Regions from separate parts of the Homo sapiens genome. Here regions 1 and 2 are each linked to region 3. The links are contacts of gene promoters, found by promoter capture Hi-C in human tissues and cell types (Jung and others, 2019). All regions are on one chromosome and are shown on one strand. The core of a region is centred on a gene start or on the middle of the fragment in contact, and the rest is flanking DNA. Distances in the headings are between cores, read along the strand shown. Region 1 has its middle 13 kb from the start of LINC01690. Region 2 overlaps EPCIP-AS1 (EPCIP antisense RNA 1). Region 3 holds the start of IL10RB (interleukin 10 receptor subunit beta).

Region 1 (4,410 bases), core at 176-2,675, 290 kb after region 3:
AGAGTCTCACTTTGTTGCCCAGGCTCATCTTGAACCCCATGGGCTCAAGCAATCCACCCTCTTCAGCCTCTCAAAGTGCTGAGATTACAGGTATGAGCCACCGCACCTGCTGCCCTCTCTTCGGGTTTGGTACTAAATAAAAATATCCCTCCCTTACTTTTCTGATGGCTCTGGGTGCATTTTCTGGCTCTTTTTCTTCTCTTCTTTGTGGGTGGTGGTGATGGGAGGTAAGAGCAGATCCAAGCTAACATTTGCACTTCCTGGTTTGTATTTTTCCAATATCAATATGGGGCCTTAACATACAAATCTACCTGTTCTTGTTTTTCAGGCACTCATAGCTATAAACACCAAGTACACTCTTCCTGATATGGTGGGGCTGAGAAAGGAAGGGATGCCCATTCAGTTGGAGTGGATTTACTTCCCAAAGAGCAAGGTTTCCATGACACCAATAGTTTTCTTTGGATCTTTGATTGTATACTCCAAGTGGTCTATGAACGTGCCACATTTGACTCAAACATCCATCCCATAGACTCTCATAGTATGTCTACGCTGTGCAAACCGTGTGTTACAGAAATCCTAAGGCATCACTTATATGAAATGTTGAAGGAACTGTATTTGAACAGAGCTGGTCACAAAGAATTAGATATTCAGGGCTTTCTTCATTTATCCATGCCATCTGCAAAGTGCATTGACAGACAACTTACCCATTTCCATGTTTGCATAGTATTTTCCAGAAAACAGAACCAAGCCGAAGGCAAAATTCACAAAAGGAACGAGAGACTCTTGCCCCTGTTATTTTACTTTTACTCCTTTTTTCACTCTTTCCCTATTCAAGATAGCTTGAGACAGAGAGGAAAAGCAGAAGAACAACTGTGAAATAATTGGACATCTTTGCAAGAGGTCAGAGAGAGTCAAATCTTTGCTGCTCAAAATCAGTGCTTTAGGCATTGATAACACAAGTAAGCATTTGTTTCTCTTAGGCTCACTCTTCTAACAAAGTTTAGAGCTTTGTGAGTGTGTGAATGTATTTATGAAATGAAAACTAAGTTATCTGACTCTGGTGTGCTGATGTTATTCTAGTTGTTTCAGAACTGATTTCTTTGTTCTCAGTGTTGAAGCTTAGCATGCTCACAGATATTCAATATACAAAGGCATTTAACACAACTGAGAAAGAATTTAATTTGGCTTGTTTTTTTTCTGCTTTATTTTCCTTTCTGTTGTATCCTAAGCATTATTAAGTAATCAATGAATTGTATAGCTACTTATAATAATTCTCCAATGGGCATATAGTTTAATCTCAACCCATTGAGACTGAAGAAATAAAAATACAGGAAAACCCTATAACTCAATGCCTGATGAGCCTGTGGGGAAAGCAGATATATCATTCTTTGAAAACTGGTACAATGCCTTTTGAGGGCATTTGGCAATCAATGCGGGTCAAAGGTCATAAAAATGTTAGTACTCTTTGACCCTGTAATCTCATTCTTTGGAATTTATTTCAAGAAAGCAATTTAAAAGGAGAAATGGTGTATGCATTGATATATTTATAGCAGTGTTATTTGTGGGAGTGAAAAGCTGAAAATAACCAAAGTCTTAGCAAAGGGCAACAGATAACAAATTATGGAACATTGGTGTAATGGGATATTATCTATTTACTAAAAATGATAAAGATGATATATAATTAGGGCTGTGAGGAAAAACATAGCATATCTACAGGACTGTCAAAATGATGTGAAAACAGGACATACATAAATAAAACTCCAAAGTGATGATTTCTTATGATGAAGAAATGAAAACAATTGTAATATAGGATAGTATGAATCTGGGAAAAAATGTATTTACATTGAAAATGGCATATTTTAACTTTCATTTAACAACAAAGAATAGTTCTAACTTGGGAGAGAGCTTCTAAGGCACTACTCCAGTTATCAAGCAATTCCACTACCTCATTTATTCATCTCTTGTTATCTTTTCTTAATCTTTATATCTTGCCGAGTAACTTGGGTTACTCATTTCAAATTAAACAATTCTTTTAATAAAGAGACTCCAATCAGAAAAAAATAGGAGCAAGCTACATGTAAAAATAGCTCCCCTAAATACTGAAAGGCCATAAACCTAGGTACAGAGGGTGAAAAGCCACCGCCCACCAGTCCCACCTCCTCTCCCGCCCATCCTGTGAGCCTGACAAATACGACTCTTTGGACTGTGTGCTTTTCACCCAGGAGAGGAGCTGTACATCTTCGTTTTTTTAATATTCCCAAACAAGCTTTCTTGGAGAGCAAGAAGAACCAGCCACCAAATTTTTTTTTTAAAAGCAAAATATTATTCTCGATTTCTTCCTCTACATGTAGAATGGAGAATCTGTTTAGAGTCTGCGTGTGAAGGACACCCACTGCTTTCAAAATTAATATCTGAGTTGTTCCCAGAAGACAGGACTGGGCCTTGAATGTTGCAGTGGAGGCCACTGAACAGCATTATGTCATAGACAATGGTGGGGTTGTGTAGAGAAAGAAAAGGCTTTGCATGTTGGTGGGATACTGCTTCTTGCTCCCAAACTGGTCGCCCACCCTAATCCTTTCCGCTCTGTGCAAGGAACCATTTGGCTCCTGGATTCAGGGCCCGTTCTCCAAGGGTTCTGCATCAATCGTGCATTCCGTTTGCCCCACACTGGCTAATTGGGCCCAGCCCACCAGCTGCTATGGAGCTGTTTGTGTGAATGCCCTCAAAGTCGGGGCCCAGATATATGCGGGGGTGGGGGTGGGGGGCGGGGGGGAGAGGGGGAGGCGGGAAGATGCTACTGGGAGCTATTTCTTTTTTTTTTTTTTTTTTTTTTTGAGACGGGGTTTCGCTCTTGTTGCCCAGACTGGAGTGCAATGGCGCGATCTCAGCTCACTGCAACCTCTGCCTCCCAGGTTCAAGCAATTCTCCTGCCTCAGCTCCCTGAGTAGCTGGGATTACAGGCAACTGCCACCACCCCCAGCTAATTTTTGTATTTGGAGTAGAGACGGAGTTTCACCATGTTGGTCAGGCTGGTCTCAAACTCCTGGTGATCCACCCACCTCAGCTTCGCAAAGTGCTGGGATTACAGGCGTGAGCCACCTCGCCCAGCCTGGGAGCTTCTAACAGTGCACTCCCAACTAGCCTATCTACAGAAGAAAACTTACAAAAATGTGTTCCACTAAATAGGGCAGCCCACTCCCGTTTGGTCAGGGTGAATATTTACATGGACTTTTCAGGAATCCCAAAAGAATACTATTATCTGGTGTAATAAAGCAAAAGGGTCTAAATACGTTTTAGTATTTGATTACATTTCTAAATACGTTTATTTCATATGGTACCAAAGTTTGTTTTAAAATGAACAATTTTAGGTAAAGAATACTTTTTAAAGTTTATACATGTCCCTGCTTTCTTAATCAGAGTCTTATAAACACAAGTTCAACTTTTCCTGGTGACTTTTCATTAGAATTCTAAACATATTTGCTCTTATGTGAATATCCCCAACTTTTGTTTTATGGAATAGTTTTCTTTTTCTCGATTTTACACTCCTGTCTCTCATTATCAACTATCCCTTCTTGTGGTACCAGGCCTACCTTCTTGTGTTTTCAGAAGACAAACTATACCTTTATTTACTCAAATTCGGCAACATTTATTGTGCCATAAATCAAGGCCTTAGGTAAACTGTGAGATTGCAGCATGAACAGAACACACTTAAGTTTAATATTCACTTAAATCCCCATGGATGCATTGGTTGGGGGTCCTGACTGGACCACATAACTCAGATCTTTGCAGGCCATGAAAATCACCAAGCAAAACTTATTCTGTACCACCAGCCTGACCCACCTTCTGTTATGCATGTTTTCTTTCTGAGTAAAGAAATTGACACATGATATGTGGTATCGGTGGTCTAGTACAAATGAAAAGCAGATATCAGAGAGAAAGAGTGAGTAAAGAGGCTTTAGAAAGATGATGTATAAATGATCAATAAATTGCCACCTTCTATACAAATATCTGTTAATATCTCTAGATTGGATCCATCCATTTCTTCCTCCTCTAGCTTGTCATCAGATGTTAGCTGGGTACACCTAATAAATAAGGCTATGTTTGTGTAAATAGACCCGAGGGAATCGCTTCTGAGGTTAAACAAGGATACTATACTCTCCTTTTGTAGAATCCTCAGAAAGATAATTTTATTGTCACAAAATAGAAACAAAAATGAAGTTGGATGCAGGGGAGTCATTTTTCCTTATTTCCTTCTCTCTTTATATAGCTCTCAGACACAAGGAGCTTCCCAGGACTGGCCACCAGCTGGACATCCCTTTGGGGACTGAGTCCCCCATTTTTCACATTTGGTTTAATTTTCCTCATCCATCATTTCAAGTCTAATGAACTGAAAATATACTTATTTTTTAA
Region 2 (4,432 bases), core at 657-3,156, 490 kb after region 3:
AAGTACAGAAGTACTTTATCAAGTAATTAGTTTCTGATAATATACCAGCTGACAGGCAGTTAAGGTAGCTATTCAATTTCAGGAATTTAATTTCCACAATCTCTATAACTTCTGATAGAAGAACCTTTGGCTTGCTTGGGCAGTAAGATAACTTTTAAATGTTTAACTTTGCTCTTTAACTATATAAATAGGTAGACTGGCAAAGTTATAAATAAATCTGTTGTATCTGAATACAACCATGCACTGCATAATGATGTTTTGATCAATGATGGACTGCATATATGGTGGTGGTCCCATAAGATTGCAATGCGGCCAGGCGCCGTGGCTCATGCCAGTAATCTCAGCACTTTGGGAGGGTGAGGCAGGCGGATGACCTGAGGTCAGGAGTTCGAGACCAGCTTGGCCAAATGGTGAAAGCTCGTCTCTACTAAAAATTCCAAAAATAGTCATGTGTGGTGGCACGTGCCTGTAATCCCAGCTCCTCAGGAGGCTGAGGCACAAGAATCGCTTGAACTTGGAGGCAGAGATTGCACCACTGCACTCTAGCCTGGGCAACAGAGCTACACTCTGTTTCAAAAAAAAAAAAAAAAAAAGATTGCAATGGAGCTGAAAAATTCCTATCATCTAGTGACATCATAGCAATCATAATACTGTAGCACAATACATTACTCATGTGTGTGGTGATGCTGGTATTAAGAAACCTCTGTTTCAGTGGTATAAAAGTATAGCACATACAATTACATATACCACATAAAACTCCATAATGATAATAAATGACTATGTTACTGGTTTATGTATTTGCTATACCAGTAGTCCCCAACCTTTTTGACACCAGGGACTGGTTTCATAGAAGACAATTTTTCCATGAACTAGGGGGTGGAGGATGGTTTGAGGATGATTCAAATGCATTACATTTACTGTGTACTTTATTTCTATTACAATTACATTGTAATATATAATGAAATAATTATACAATTCACCATAATGTAGAATCAGTTGGAGCCCTCAGCTTGTTTTCCTGCAACCAGATGGTCCCATCTGGGGGTGATGGGAGACAGTGACAGGTCATCAGGCATTAGATTCTCATAAGGAGTGCACAAGCTAGATCCCTCATGTGCAGAGTTCACAATAGGGTTCGTGTTCCTGTAAGAATCCAATGCTGCTGCAGATCTGACAGGAGACAGAGCTCAGGTGGTAATGCGAGTGATGCAGAGTGGCTGCAAATACAGATGAAGCTTTGTTTGCTCACCCGCCGCTCACCTCCTCTTGTGCAGCTCGGTTCCTAACAGGCCACTGACTGGTACCAGTCTGTGGCCTGGAGGTTGGGGACCCCTGCTTTATCTTATTTCTCGCATATTTAGTGAGGCCTCATCAGTTGTTAAGGCCCAGCTATTTATCTTCCCCCCAAATGTATATATTGAAACACTAATCCCCAGTGTGATAGCAGAGGAGGTAGAGATGCTGGAATGTGACTAGGTCACAAAGGTGGAGCCCTTATGAATGGGATTAGTGCCCTGGTAAGAAGCTGAAGAAACCACAGTTGTCTCCCTTCCACCATGTGAGGACTCAGCTAGAAGGTACCATCTATGAACCAGGAAGCAGACCCTCACCGGAACACAAATCTGCCAGTGCCTTAACCTTGGATTTCCCAGCATCCAGAGCTGTGAGAAATAAATTTGTTGTTTATAAGTCACCCAATTAATGGTATTTTGTTGTAGCAGCCCAAATGGACTAAGACATCAGCTAATGTATATAGAATATTTTTTACATATTTATTGGCTTTGTGGCTTCTAACATTTTAAAAATAAACTTAAAAAAAGAGAGAGAACAATGTCTACCTTTGGCCACTTGCCTCCTGCAGGGGTGGGAGGTGGTTGGGGACGCCTATACTATACTTTTTACTGTTATTTTAGAGCGCACTCTTTTTACTTACAAAAAAAAAAGTTAAGTATATAAGAGCCTCAGGCAGGTCCTTCAGGAGGTATTCCAGAAAAAGATATTGTTTTTATAGGACATGATAGCTCCATGTTTGTTATTTTTCCTGAAGACCTTCCAGTGGGACAAGATGTGGAAGTGGAAGACAGTGACACTGATAATCCTGACCTTGCGTAGGCCTAGGCTGATGTGTGTGTTTGTGTCTTAGCTTTAAAGTTTAAAAAGTAAAACAAAATAATTAAAATGGTAAAAATAGAAGATATTTTTGTGCAGCTGTAAATGTGTATTTTTTTAAGCAAAGTGTTATGCCGGGCACGATGGCTCACGCCTGTAATCCCAATACTTTGGGAGGCTGAGGCAGGTGGACGACCTGAGGTCGGGAGTTTGCGACTGCCTTGACCAACATGGAGAAACCTTGTCTTTACTAAAAATACAAAATTAGTTGGGCGTGGTGGTGCATGCCTGTAATCCCGGCTACTCAGGAGGCTGAGGCAGGAGAACTTCTTGAACCCTGGATGCAGAGGTTGCGGTGAGCTGAGGTTGCACTACTGCACTCCAGCCTGGGCAACAAGAGCAAAACTCTGTCTCAAAAAAAAAAAAAAAAAAGTCAAGAAGTTTTAAAAAATGTCTGGGCACGTTGGCTCATGCCTGCAATCCCAGAACTTTGGGAGGCCGAGGTGGGCAGATTACTTGAGGTCAGGAGTTCAAGACCAGCCTGGCCAACACAGGAGCTTGTGGGGTGTGCGGATCATCTCTACTAAAAATACAAACATTAACTGGGCATGGTGGTGCACGCTTATAATCCCAGCTACTTGGGAAGCTGAGGTGGGAGGATTGCTTGAACCTGGGAGGCAGAGGTTGCAGTGAGCTGAGATCACGCCACTGCACTCCAGCCTGGGGATAGAGTGAGACTCTGTCTCATTGCTTGAACCTGGGAGGTGGAGGTTGCAGTGAGCTGAGATCGCGCCACTGCACTCCAGACTGGGTGACAGAGTGAGACTCCATCTCAAAAAACAAAAACAAAACAAAACAATAACAACAAAAAAGTTTTAAAAAATAAGAAAGCTTATAAAGTAAAAAAGTTATAGTAAGCTATTTATTATTGAAGAAAGAAATATGTTTAAACATTTAGTGTAGCCTAAGTGTACAGTTGTTTATAAAATCTACAGCAGTGTACAGTAATAACCTAGGCCTTCATATTCACTTACCACTCACTCACTGACTCACCCAGAGCAACCTCCAGTCCTGTAAGCTCCATTCCTGGTAAGTGTCCTATACAGGTGCACCATTTTTAAAGCTTTTATGCTGTATTTTTACTGTATCTTTTCTATGTTTAGATACAGATACCATTGTGTTACAAGTGCTACAGTATTCAGTACAGTAACATGCCGTATAGGTTTGTAGCCTAGAAGCAATAAGCTATGCCATACAGCCTAGGTATGTAGTAGGCTACACCACTAGGTTTGTGTAAGTATGTGATGAAATTGCCTAATGGCATATTTCTCAGAATGTATCCCCGTCAAGTGACAAGTGATTGTATTGTGGCTTACTTTAAAATGAGAGGTACTCTTCCCTCTATCCATATCCAATCACCACTTTTACACTGGGAGAAATTTTTGAAATTTCAGGCCACCATAATAACATATTTGGCTTCTGGACCTTGTCTTTGCTACCTCTACCCTAATTATTTTACTGCAAATCTTTCTCTTGGCTCAGGTGTCTGGAGGCTGATCAGGCACAATTTGAATCTTCTATGATTAGAAAAGGGAGTTCAATTTCACTAGTGAAACACTGTTGGAATCAGAACTTACACCAATGCTGAACAGCCAGAATATAAGAACTGAGAGTAACATAAGTAGAATGGAAGCCAGATGTTATTAACCCTTCCTATTAACTAGAAGAAAATGTTAATGTTATAGAGGATGCTCTTAGCTCCAAAACTGAGTCCTAGTTGTGCACATGTCAAATCTAATTAAAAATATAAAAATTAGGCCGGGTGTGGTGGCTCATGCCTTAATCCCAGCACTTCAGAAGGCCGAGGCAGGCGGATCACAAGGTCAGAAGTTTGAGACCAGCCTGGCCAACGTGGCAAAACCCCGTCTCTACTAAAAATACAAAAATTAGCCAGGTGTGGTGCCAGGTGCCTGTAATCCCAGCTACTCGGGAGGCTGAGGCAAGAGAATCGTTTGAACACAGGAGGCAGAGGTTGCAGTGAGCTGAGATCGTGCCATTGTACTCCAGCCTGGGCGAGAAGAGCAAGACTCCGTCTTAAAAAACAAAACAAAACAAAACAAAAATACAAAAATTAGCCGGGTGTGGTGCCAGATGCCTGTAATCCCAGCTACCCGGGAGGCTGAGACATGACAATAGCTTGAACATGGGAGACAGAAGTTGCAGTGAGCTGAGATCGTGCCACCGCACTCCAGTCTGGGCCATAGAGCAAGACTCCGTCTCAAACAAATAATAAATAAATAAATAAATAAAATAAAAAGAAATG
Region 3 (4,458 bases), core at 610-3,109:
TGAACAGCCGTGAGGAGAAATTTCTGGAGGGGCAGGAGTAAAATGGGGACAGACAAAGGAGCCTTGGATTTGTCTGGTGGCAGAAAGCTATGAGGGGGTAGGGTGGGCACATGGATTTCAGATATATTTCCAGACGTAAAAACAAACTGGAGACTTCCTGATACATTTGATGCATAAAAGCTGAGGTCAATGTCCATTTTGGGCTTAAGCAGCTGGTGCCCCGATTGGAGCTCAGCTGGGGAACTCACGAGTCCCATTTGAGCTGCATTAGGTTGGAGATGCTGGAGAGAGGCTGAAGTAGGAATGTCAGGGAGACAGCCAGATGAATGAGCCCAGAGGTCACACCAAGAAGAGATGTGGGCTAGAGACAGAAATTATTTTCAAACCTTTTAATAGAAAATTCGAAACCTGGCCAGGCATGGTGGCTCGCGCCTGTAATCCCAGCTCTTTGGGAGGCTGAGGAAGGTGAATCACCTGAGGTCAGGAGTTCGAGACCAGCCTGGCCAACATGGCGAAACCCCATCTCCAATAAAAATACAAAAATTAGCCAGGCGTAGTGGCACACACCTGTAATTCCAGCTACTCGGGAGGCTGAGGGAGGAAAATCGCTTGAACCCGGGAGGCGGAGGTGGCAGTGAGGCAAGATCAAGCCACTGCACTCCAGCCTGGGCCACAGCAACAGAGCAAAACCCTGTCTCAAAAAAAAACAAAAAAACAAAAAAACAAACAAACAAAAAAAAAAACGGAAGAAGAAAGAAAGAAAAGAAAATTTGAAACCTACATGCAAGTAGAAAAGTAGAAGACTATAATAAACCACCACCCATCACCCAACTGGTACCAAGAGAGATATAAATGTGCGAGTCATGGGCCTATAGCCCGTGTTTAATGCCAGGGTTTGGCTGAAATCCCCCAAAGGAACAGTGCCAGGGAAGGAGAGAAAAGGCCTTGGGCATCACAATTAGCTACATAGAAACCTGACAGAGCAGGAGGGTCCCAAGCAGAGACAGCCTGACAGGGCGGGAAACCGGAGGGGTATCCCGGAAGGCCAGGGAAGAGTTCATGAGAAAGGAAGGAGGTGACCATGGTGTTATTGGAACCTAGGCAGTCAATTTAGAGGACAGAAAAGGTTTCAATGGATTTAGGTTTAGAAGCCATGGAGCTGGGGCGCTGGGGGACAGAATCCAGATTTCAGGGTGCTCGGGCCTGAACCGGAAGGAGGGGAGGTGCAGCGGGTGATGGGAGGCACATCTGTAGGGAGGGCTGGCACTGAGGGGGCAGACTTGGGGTCAGGGAGGGCTGTCAGGGCACTCGGGGACTGGTGGGGGCCTCCACTTGAACTGATAGTCTCCAGAAGGGTCAGATGACAGCCACGGTGGGATCTTGGGTCTTTTGGGGAAGCTACTTTATTTAGACGCCCGCCAGCAGAGAGCTGCAGGAGGACAGGGAATCAAAAGACGCCGGGAGTCTCCCCCTGAGTTTAGGGCCCAGACGGTCTGTAATCCGGGCGCGGATGGGGCTTTCTCCTGTTACAGAATCGACGGCAGCAGCAGCCTAGTTGCGTCTCAGCAGCCGGCCGTGGCGTTTGCATCTTCTCTCCCGAGGCCCCGAAGGCTCTTAAGTCACTTGCAGGGCGCCCAGGGATGGGATCAGGGGCGGCATCTCGCGGGGCCTCCCGGTTCCCAAGCGCGCCCCCTCCCCGCGGACCCCTCACCTGACACCAGCAGGCAGCCACCCAGCCAGCTCCCAAGGCTCCACGCCATGGACGGACGCTGGGGGTTCCGCGGCTTCCTCCAAGCACACGACCCCCGCCCGCGCCCGGGAGAGCTTGTCCGCGGCGGCTTCCGGGAACCAGCGGAGATGGGCGGGGCGGGGTGGGGAGGGGCCGGGCGACCGGGCTCCCACCCCGCTGCAGGCCCCGCCCACCAGCCCGGGTCCACCCGCGAGGCGCGGGGCACAGGCTTGGCAGATGCACACGAGGAAGAGGAAGGGATCCTCGCAAGCTTTGAAAGGCGCCGTCAAGTCAAATAAATAAATGCCCTACAACACCAACCCAGGACTGAGATCTGCATGCTGGAATGACGGTGGTGGTGGTGGCTTTCAGTATTCCCCAGGTTTTGTCCGGAGCACCGGCACGCCCTCTCTTGAAGTCCGCTCTCCGCACAGGTGAGTTAAAAGCACTTCAGCAGCAAATCCAGTTTGAGGGTCTTCTTTACCCTTCTCCCCAGGGATAAACAACACAAAACCAAGTCATCTTTACGCAAATAACTAGTTTCTTTCAGAGACTACTAAGAAAGCGTTAATTTCCTCTTTTTAACTTGATTAGTGGTTAGACGGGAAGATCCGGAGCTGTCCAGTGTCTTGGGTAATGCACGGCATCGCCTGATGTCTGACGCTAGAACACCACGTAAAGTCAAGCAGAGGGAAGTGAATGCGCCCTAGGCCCCTGCAGGCCACCAAGAAGAGCTAGAGGGAGTTGGTGCAATCCTAGAGATGCCGGCAGGTGCACCAATCTGTGGCACACGTACGCTCTCCAATGGAAGACAACTCAAGACCACACCAAGTTTGTATTAAAAAAGTACTGTTGTGTTACTTTTTACCAACCTCCAATCATTATACAAAATGTTAAAAAATACACAAACACACACACACACTCACAGCCATAGAGGTTATCGCAAAAGATCAACCCAGAATCTTTCAGAATATGACAGATGCACTGAGAAGGCAGATAAATTGATTCAATATACAAAAGGCCTCTTTCCTATGGAATTTCATTAGATTAAATAAGGTGTTCCCTCCTCACAGCCTCATCCTTATGAGCAATCATATAAATAATCTATTTAAAGTCCTTGAACTATAACTTGTATAATTTTTAGTTTTCCCCCTTTGAAGGGGCCTAAGAGAAAGGTTTGAGAAACCAGCTCTTGAGGGGGGCAGGGGTGAGGGGTAAGAGGTCCTGTGCCTTTCATTCATCCTGGGAGCTTCTCAGGATTGCAGCATTTCCACCTGAGTGTTCATTCTTGTACATTTTCTCATCTTTCTCCTGGGTTCCTAGGATCTTGGAGATTACCTAGTCCAATCCTTTTACTTCAGAAACAAAAAACCTGAGGCTCAGAAAGGCTAAGTCAAATGCCTAGGGTCACACAGGGAAACTGTGGGAGTTGGATCCCTGAGTCCCAGTCCTTAAACTGGTTGCTACATGACATTCTAGAACCTCTCCCCACCAACTCCCTTTTTAAAGACAGGGTCTGGTTCTGTCACCCAGGCTGAAGTGCAGTGACATGATCTTGGCTCACTGCAACCTCCGCTTCCTGGGCTCAAGCCATTCTCCCACCTCAGCCTCCCAAGTAGCTGGGACAACAGGCACATGCCACTACGCCCAGTTAATTTTTCTAATTTTGTTTTGTAGAGACAGATTTGCCATGTTGCCCAGGCTGGTCTCGAATTACTGGCCTCAAGCGATACGCCTGTTTAGGCATCCCAAAGTGCTGGGGTTACCGGCAGGAGCAATTGCTCCGGGCCAGACTTCCCTTCCCCCGCCCACACCCCCCCAACCCGGCCTAGATCCACAGGCACTGTAATCACAGCTGACACACTCGACTCGGAATCAGCATAGAGAGCACTCTGAAAATTGTCAAATAGGGTCCCTGAAACTTGTATACCATACTTCTCCTGAAGATCTTGAAGCATCTTTGTGTTTGCTTTTTTTTTTTTTAACTTAAAATATGGCATTCAGGTTTTATCCCTCTCCCCGACGCCATGTTTCCTTTCTGTATTAGTCACACACGTGATCCTAAAGTCTGTCTTCCCCACTTTAACTGGGGAGGGCTGGACAAGGTGGAATTCCAATTGCAGGAGACAGGATGTGACATGGGTGAGGTGCCCAAGGCTCACCGACTGAAACTTCGATGGCTCTTCCCTGTTTCCTTGTGCAGGGCCCCCCTTCTCTCCACTGCTCACCTGGCTCTCCTCCTCCCTTCCTGCCTGCTTTGCAGCTCTTGCTACTATTTTCCTTTTCTTTCCCTGCTCCCACCCTGGCCCAATTTATTTCACAGAAATATCACAGGGCCAGCCAGGCACAGCGGCTCACCCCTGTAATCCCAGCACTTTACGAGGCTGAGGAGGGCAGATCACTTGAGGTCAGGAGTTTGAGACCAGCCTGGCCAACATGGTAAAATCCTGTCTCTACTAAAAATACAAAAATTTGCTAGGCATGGTGGCAGGCGCCTGTAATCCCAGCTACTTGCGAGGGAGGCTGAGGCAGGAGAATCACTTGAACCTGGGAGGCGGATGTTGCAGTGAGCCAAGATCACACCATTGCGCTCCAGCTTGGGCGACAGAACGAGACTCTGTCTCAAAAAAAAAAAAAAAAAAGAACGAAAGAAGAGAAATATCATAGGGTCCTGGACCACCTCTGAAACTGTGGGGAACCCTGCTCCCTGGTAGACATGATGCAGAAAC

What was found. The method cuts DNA at HindIII sites, captures the fragments that hold promoters and counts their contacts. A contact is called where the count stands out against the background at its distance.
Region 1: a contact is called between a fragment that was not itself captured here and the fragment with the promoter of IL10RB in region 3, in 2 of the 25 tissues and cell types used here (IMR-90 fibroblasts and lymphoblastoid cells).
Region 2: a contact is called between a fragment that was not itself captured here and the fragment with the promoter of IL10RB in region 3, in 1 of the 25 tissues and cell types used here (dorsolateral prefrontal cortex).

The regions. Positions count from the first base shown.
Region 1 is chr21:32,969,520-32,973,929 of GRCh38, reverse strand. No RefSeq gene overlaps it. Among named protein-coding and RNA genes, the nearest start is that of LINC01690, 13 kb to the right of the region's middle. The HindIII fragment of the contact is 4,875 bases long and covers 1-3,862 here.
Region 2 is chr21:32,773,724-32,778,155 of GRCh38, reverse strand. All of the region lies in intron 1 of EPCIP-AS1 (EPCIP antisense RNA 1), which reads right to left. Among named protein-coding and RNA genes, the nearest start is that of EPCIP-AS1, 3.8 kb to the right of the region's middle. The HindIII fragment of the contact is 6,384 bases long and covers 1-4,432 here.
Region 3 is chr21:33,263,768-33,268,225 of GRCh38, reverse strand. IL10RB (interleukin 10 receptor subunit beta) reads right to left here and starts at 1,859. Exons shown (of 7, transcript NM_000628.5): 1 at 1,712-1,859. The coding sequence starts at 1,760. All of the region lies in intron 7 of IFNAR2-IL10RB (IFNAR2-IL10RB readthrough), which reads right to left. IFNAR2 (interferon alpha and beta receptor subunit 2) reads right to left here. Exons shown (of 9, transcript NM_001289125.3): 9 at 2,562-4,458. It overlaps IL10RB-DT (IL10RB divergent transcript), which reads left to right and starts at 1,966. Exons shown (of 2, transcript NR_038974.1): 1 at 1,966-2,163; 2 at 2,324-2,594. RefSeq lists a silencer at 1,604-2,013 and enhancers at 2,184-2,253, 2,284-2,343. The HindIII fragment of the contact is 10,877 bases long and covers 1-3,781 here.